2 separate regions of the Homo sapiens genome follow, and region 2 is linked to region 1. The links are contacts of gene promoters, found by promoter capture Hi-C in blood cells and fetal thymus (Javierre and others, 2016). All regions are on one chromosome and are shown on one strand. The core of a region is centred on a gene start or on the middle of the fragment in contact, and the rest is flanking DNA. Distances in the headings are between cores, read along the strand shown.

Evidence for each region. The method cuts DNA at HindIII sites, captures the fragments that hold promoters and counts their contacts. A CHiCAGO score of 5 or more calls a contact.
Region 2: a fragment that was not itself captured here is called in contact with the fragment with the promoter of KNG1 in region 1 in 1 of 17 cell types (total B cells); the score reaches 5.5 in total B cells.

The regions. Positions count from the first base shown.
Region 1 is chr3:186,715,746-186,718,949 of GRCh38, reverse strand. It overlaps KNG1 (kininogen 1), which reads right to left and starts at 1,591. Exons shown (of 10, transcript NM_001102416.3): 1 at 1,213-1,591. The coding sequence starts at 1,407. The HindIII fragment of the contact is 10,098 bases long and covers 491-3,204 here.
Region 2 is chr3:185,959,409-185,962,612 of GRCh38, reverse strand. It overlaps the pseudogene NMRAL2P. Among named protein-coding and RNA genes, the nearest start is that of TRA2B, 23 kb to the right of the region's middle. The HindIII fragment of the contact is 4,527 bases long and covers 1-3,204 here.

The DNA of each region.
Region 1 (3,204 bases), core at 342-2,841:
AGTGAAATTTGTTTAAACATACTCTTGAAAGATTGGTATTTCTTTGAACCATGCATCCTGCCAGGATTTGTCTCCTGCTGGAGTGCATCATTGCAATAATATCAAAAACTAACTAAAACGTTGCTGTTAAACCCAGTACATTCAGCCATACAGACTTCTGTCTAATTCCGTAGAATCACATTAACCTCATTCCTCACTCCTCTTAGACATGCCCCATGAAGTACCCCCTCCCATTAAAGGTTTGGAGTTCTATAGTTTTTAGCCTAGGGCCAGAGACCCAGTGAATTCTTTTGCTGCAGTCTAACTAAATTCCTAAATTCTCCCTCTCTACTTGGTCCTGTTGAGATTTCTCCATCTACTTTTGTTTCATTTCACCCTAGATTCTACTTCTCTGATCATCCAGGAAGCCAACCTGCCTGAGGACGAGTCATACTCTGTCCTCCCACCCCAGGCCAGAGAGTGGTATCTGTCTTTCCACAAGTTGTAAGCTTCTACCTTTGATGATCACATATTTGGTAGTGCGTGATGGTGGTGGGTGGTGGGTGGCGGTGGTGGTGGGTGGTGAGGGGTGGTAGTGGTGGTGGGTGGTGGTGGGTGGTGGTGGTGGTGGGTGGTGGGTGGTGGTGGGTGGTGGTGGTGGTGGGTGGTGGGTGGTAGGTGGTGGGTGATGGTGGTGGGTGGTGGGTGGTGGGTGGTGGTGGGTGGTGGGTGATGGTGGTGGGTGGTGGGTGGTGGTGGTTGGGTGGTGGTGGTGGATGGTGGTGGTGGTGGGTGATGGTGGTGGGTGGTGGGTGGCGGTGGTGGTGGGTGGTGAGGGGTGGTAGTGGTGGTGGGTGGTGGTTGGTGGTGGTGGATGGTGGTGGTTGGTGGTGGTGGGTGGTGGGTGGTGGGTGATGGTGGTGGGTGATGGTGGCGAGTGGTGGTGGGTGGTGGGTGATGGTGGTGGGTGGTGGTGGGTGATGATGGTGGGTGGTGGTGGGTGGTGGGTGGTGGGTGATGGTGGTGGGTGGTGGTGGGTGGTGGGTGGTGGTGGATGGTGGTGGTGGTGGTGGGTGGTGGTGGTGGTTGTGGTGGTGGTGGTGGGTGATGGTGGTGGGTGGTGGGTGGTGGTGGTGGGTGCTGGTGGTGGTATGTGTGTGTGTGTGTGAGGCCTGGACTCCTAGTGATAGTACAAATCCCAAGTGACTTCAAGGTTAAACACAATTCACTCACCGTCTTAGTGGCTTCAGTTATGCGGTACAATACAAACTGGTTGTTACTTTGGTTTTGACTGTTATATTTCTTCAGAGCAGCATCCACAGCTTTAAATAAATCCTTGTCATTGCAGTCAATTTCCTCGGACTGTGATTCCTGGGTTAAACTTAGTAGCAGCCTGGAGCAGAGGAAAAGGATGGTAATTAGTTTCATGATCTAACAATCTCCCTCTAGGAGCTGAGGGATGGTTTCACCAAGAATCAAGAGCCAACTGGGATACTGAATTTGACAATCTCCAGCCTCTTGTTTCTTCTGTCCTCCTCTCTGCCTCAGAACTCAGGGCACTGGTTGGATTCCTGCTGCCAGACGCTAGTTGCCTTGTTCCCAAAGGTTAAATGGCTCTGCTGGGTTATCCAAACATATTTACAGCTAGAACATTGCAACACTGGGGTTGTTAACCTGCTCATTTGCATTTGAAAATCACGTGGCAGCACAGTGCATATTTCCAGGTGATTATACAACTTTATGTAGCAAATCAGAGCAGAATCTGATGAAGGAGGGGAAACAAGTGCCTACTAACTCGGTTATTCCCCTGTGACTTTTGCAAAGCCATTTTTGAAGGTCACTACATGGGTAAACAATGCAAGAATGAGTACAATGTGCAGACACATTTCATACAAAGTTTCTTTGCAGGATACCTACCTGCATAGAAGCAGACTGCTGTTAATTCTATTACATGCCTAAGAAGCTCATGCACAGGGGCATCCAGTGAGTTCCAGGAGTCCCATGCAGGACATTGGCACAACTGAAAATAAAATATGGGCGTCCTATCTGCTCTCTGGACAGGCCAGCCTTTCTCTGCTCAGTTGCATTAGTTCTGTAAAAGAAAATTGCTCCCAGGGTGGAGATAGAGGAAAAGCATAGGAAGGGATGGGTTGAGTGAAGCCCTGGATTCCCTATGCTTGCTTCTTTCTGGTTTGGTGTTGTTGGTTTGGCACAGAAAAAGATAGCCCCAAATATGGCTCTTTGGCATGCCGAGTACTTTGAACTGAAAGACATTAAAAAGGCTGCAAAAGCAAAGTCTCTTTCTTGCTTTCTCCTGCCCGTCTTTCTCCTGCTCCACTTCTCTCAAGGCAGGCCACAGAAGCTAGAATTTCTCTTCCCCAAGGCGGGTCATAGAACCCTTCTCCCTCAAAGCCAGCAATAAAACTTTATTATTCTTATTTTCCTCACATCAACACAGAGTGGGGAAACTATATTACAGAATGGTCCCCACCTGTAGACCAACATTGGAAAACTACAGTTGATAATCTCAGCAGAAGTGTGAGGCTTGATGGTATCAACATCCTTACTCCAGTAAAAATTGGCCAGGCACGGTGGCTCACACCTGTAATCCCAGCACTTTGGGAGGCTGAGATGGGTGGATCACCTGAGGTCGGGAGTTCGAGACCAGCCTGACCAACATGGAGAAACCCCATCTCCACTAAAAATACAAAATTAGCCGGGCGTAGTGGCACATGCCTGTAATCCTAGTTGCTCGGGAAGCTGAGGCAGGAGAATTGCTGGAACCCGGGAGGTGGAGATTGCAGTGAGCTGAGATTGCGCCATTGCAATCCAGCCTGGGCAACAAGAGCAAAACTCTGTCCAAAAAAAAAAAAAAAAAAAAAAAATTCGGCCTATTCACTCTGCTCCTTGTTCAGACTTTATTTTTTTAAAAAGTCTGTAGAGCCATGTTCATGAGGACAAACCTAATTTTTCTTTTTCTTTCTTTTTTCCTTTTTTTTTTTTTGACACAGGACATAGATGTTTGGACTATTTTCAATCTTTTTGTTTCTGATAAAAAATTATGTAAAGAAAATCTTTGTGCTCACCTATAAAATAGAACAAAGATTTCTTGGAGAGATGTAAAACATGGTTTTGCATCTTATTTTATATACACTTATAAATTTCAGGTTAAATTTATTCTTAGATTCTATGCCTAATTTTTTTTTTTTTTTTTTTTTTTGAGAC
Region 2 (3,204 bases), core at 510-3,009, 760 kb after region 1:
CTCAAAATCCTTCAGTGTCTGGTATGCTGTTGCAATCCTGCAGTCCCAGCTACTTGGGAGGCTGAGGTGGGAAGATCACTTGAGCCCAGGAGTTTGAGGCTGTGTACTATGATGGCTCCTGGGATGGAGAGTCACTACCCTCCAGCCCAGGCAACACAGTGAGACCCTGTAGCTAAACACAAACACACTGAAAAAACCAAACCCTTCGATCACTTTTCTCTTTCAGGAAAAGCCAACATCTTTACCATCACCCTAACGCTTAATAGAGTCATCCCCCGCTCCATTGCCTCTTCTTCTCCTTTTAATATCATACTTGACTGTTGATTTTTGAGAATTTATTTCACTCTGCTTCCTGCTTTAGCCCTTGACTTCCTCCAGACAAATTCCTGTTCTCATAGAGCTTATATTCTAGTGTGGAAAGACAGGCAGAAATAGAAGAATTGAAGTAAGGAAGGGAGCCAGACATGGGCAGGGTGGAAGCAGAGTTGCAATTTCAAATATAGAGGTCTGGAAAGTCCCCATGGAAAAGGTAACATCTAAGCAGAGACCTGAATGGCATGAGGGGGAAAGCAGTGGGTAACTGTGTTAGTTCTTTCTCACACTGCTGTGAAGAAATACCCAACACTGGGTAATTTATAAAGAAAAGAGGTTTAATTGACTCACAGTTTCACATGGCTAGGGAGGTCTCAGGAAACTTACAATCATGGCGGGAGACACCACTTCACAGGGTGGCAGCAGAGAAAATGAGGGCCCAGTGAAGGGGGAAGCCGCTTGTAAAACCACCAGATCTCATGAGAACGAACTCACTATTGATACGAACAGGAGACAGGGAAATACTGGGTAGAAGAGGGTGGTTCCTGGCAAAGGCCCCACCCTTAAGCCTGGATACCTGCTGCCCTAAGTAATAGGCATTCCTGTTTTTGCACCCCAAAAGTTGCCTTCTGGCCTGCCACCACCCCTATCCTGTATCCATATAAGCCCCAAACCCCAGGCTCCAGAAGCAGACTAGGAGACAAGGAGACAAACAGATGGCAGAATGGTGCAGCAGAGGAGAGAAGAGAAGGAACGTCAGGAGGAGTTTGGCTGAGGATGTTCGGAGAATCAGCCACTGGACAGCCAAACTCCAGGGCAAGATCATATTTCTACTCCATCCCCTGTCTAGCTCCCCAACCATCCCACTGAGAGCCACTTCCACCACTCAATAAAACCCCTGCATTCATCCTTCAAGTCCATGTGTGACCTGATTCTTCTGGGATGCTGGATGAGGGCTTGGGATACAGAAAGTTGTCACACTAGCCCCCTCCTTTTGCAAAAAGGCAGAGGGTTCACTGAGCTGGTTAACCCTTAAGCCATCTGTGGATGGCAAGGCTAAAAGAGTGCACTGTAACACATGCACACTTGGGCTTTGAAAGTTACAGACACCCACCCCTAGATGCTGCCATAGGGCTGGAGCCCAAAAGCACTTGCCCCAGTTCCTGCACCTACCGGTATGCATGCTCCCCATCTCTTAAAGAGTTTGAGCTTGCAGTGGCAGAACAGAGAGCCACACCCCTGTGGCACACCCTGTGGTGGGGGACCAGGACCAGGGAACTCTCTCTTTTCACTATCATGAGAACAGGCTGGGGGAACCGCCCCCAGCATTCATTTATCTCCACCTGGTCACTCGTATGACATGTAGGGATTGTGGGAACTACAATTCAAGATGAGATTTGGGTGGGGACACAGTCAAATTATATCAGTAACAGAGGGAGATCATTCTAGGTTGAAGAAGCAGCCAATACAAAGGCCAGAGCCTTTGTATTTGTGGGATTGTTTTGGAGGAACAGCAAGAAAGCCAGGGTAATGAAGCGGAGTGAGAGGAGGGTGGCAGGAAGAGAGTTCTGACACAACATTTCCAAGGCCCTGTTGCAGGGCATTAGCAGGACTTTGCACTTTACTGGGAGTGCCATGGGGCTGGGATCTTTTAGAGGGTTTTGAGCAGAGGCCTGACATGATCTGACAGTTTCAAATGGATCCTTGGGAGGCTGAAATGAGAATAGATTGAAGGAGAAAAACCTGATTTGATTTATATTGTGCAAAGATGGCTCTGACTGTTGAGGAACAAACTGTAAGGGAGCCAGGAATGCAAACTTCCCACACACTCCATCCTTGCAGACTCCCTGGAAGATTGGTCAGGCATTGGATATTCACTACAAACCCCCAGGCCCCTCACACTTGTACCTTTTGCTTATTAGGAAGTGAGTGGAGAGAAGACTTCAGAGTATAGCTTATGTTGAAATGAGACTTATACCAACCAGTTAGCCCCATGACTGGGAAAGGGAGATTACGTCAGTGTCCTTGTCCTGCTGAGATCAAGTTACAAATCAAATCATGCCACCCCTTTACCACATCAAGAACTAAAGCAATAGGATACTTTAAAAAATTTCTTCCAAAGAGCTCTTTGTTCAGCCCACACTTGCAGGCTCTAAAGTTACAAACAGGAAGACAGGAGAGTGAGCAAAGTCAGCATGCCCTAAAAATTAAAGACTTTTTACCTGTTGCTCCAAACACTGTAATTACTTTCTTGCTGGCCATGTTATCAGGAAAAGAGAGAGTCAGTGGAGTAACAGAACTTTCCCTGGAGCAGCGACACCAGCCGAAATGCTGTGTTTCTTCTCTGGTGAGAATTATAAACCCATTCCAATTACCACGCCTTTTATTGTGCCCCTCCTTGTTCCTGTTACCACTAGTCCACTTACTCACTGTGACACTGCAATTTTCAATTTTCTTTTTTTCTTTTTCTTTTCTTCTTCTTTTTTTTTTTTTTTTTTTTTTTGAGATGGAGTTTTGTTCTTGTTACCCAGGCTTGAGTGCAATGTCACAGTCACAGCTCACTGCAATCTCCACCCACTGGGTTCAAAGGATTCTCCTGCCTCAGCCTTCCAAGTAGCTGGGATTACAGGCACGTGCCACTATGCCTGGCTAATTTTTTTTTTTTTTTTTTTTTTTTGTATTTTTAGTAGAGACGAGGGGATTTCACCATGTTGGCCAGGCTGGTCTCGAACTCCTGACCTCAGGTGGTCCGCCCACCTTGGCCTCCCAAAATGCTGGGATTACAGGCATGAGCCACTGCACTCAGCCAACACTGCTGTTTTCTTTCTTTCTTTCTTTCTTTCTTTCTTTTTAATGGAGTTTCACTCTTGTTGCCCAAACTGGAGTGCAGTG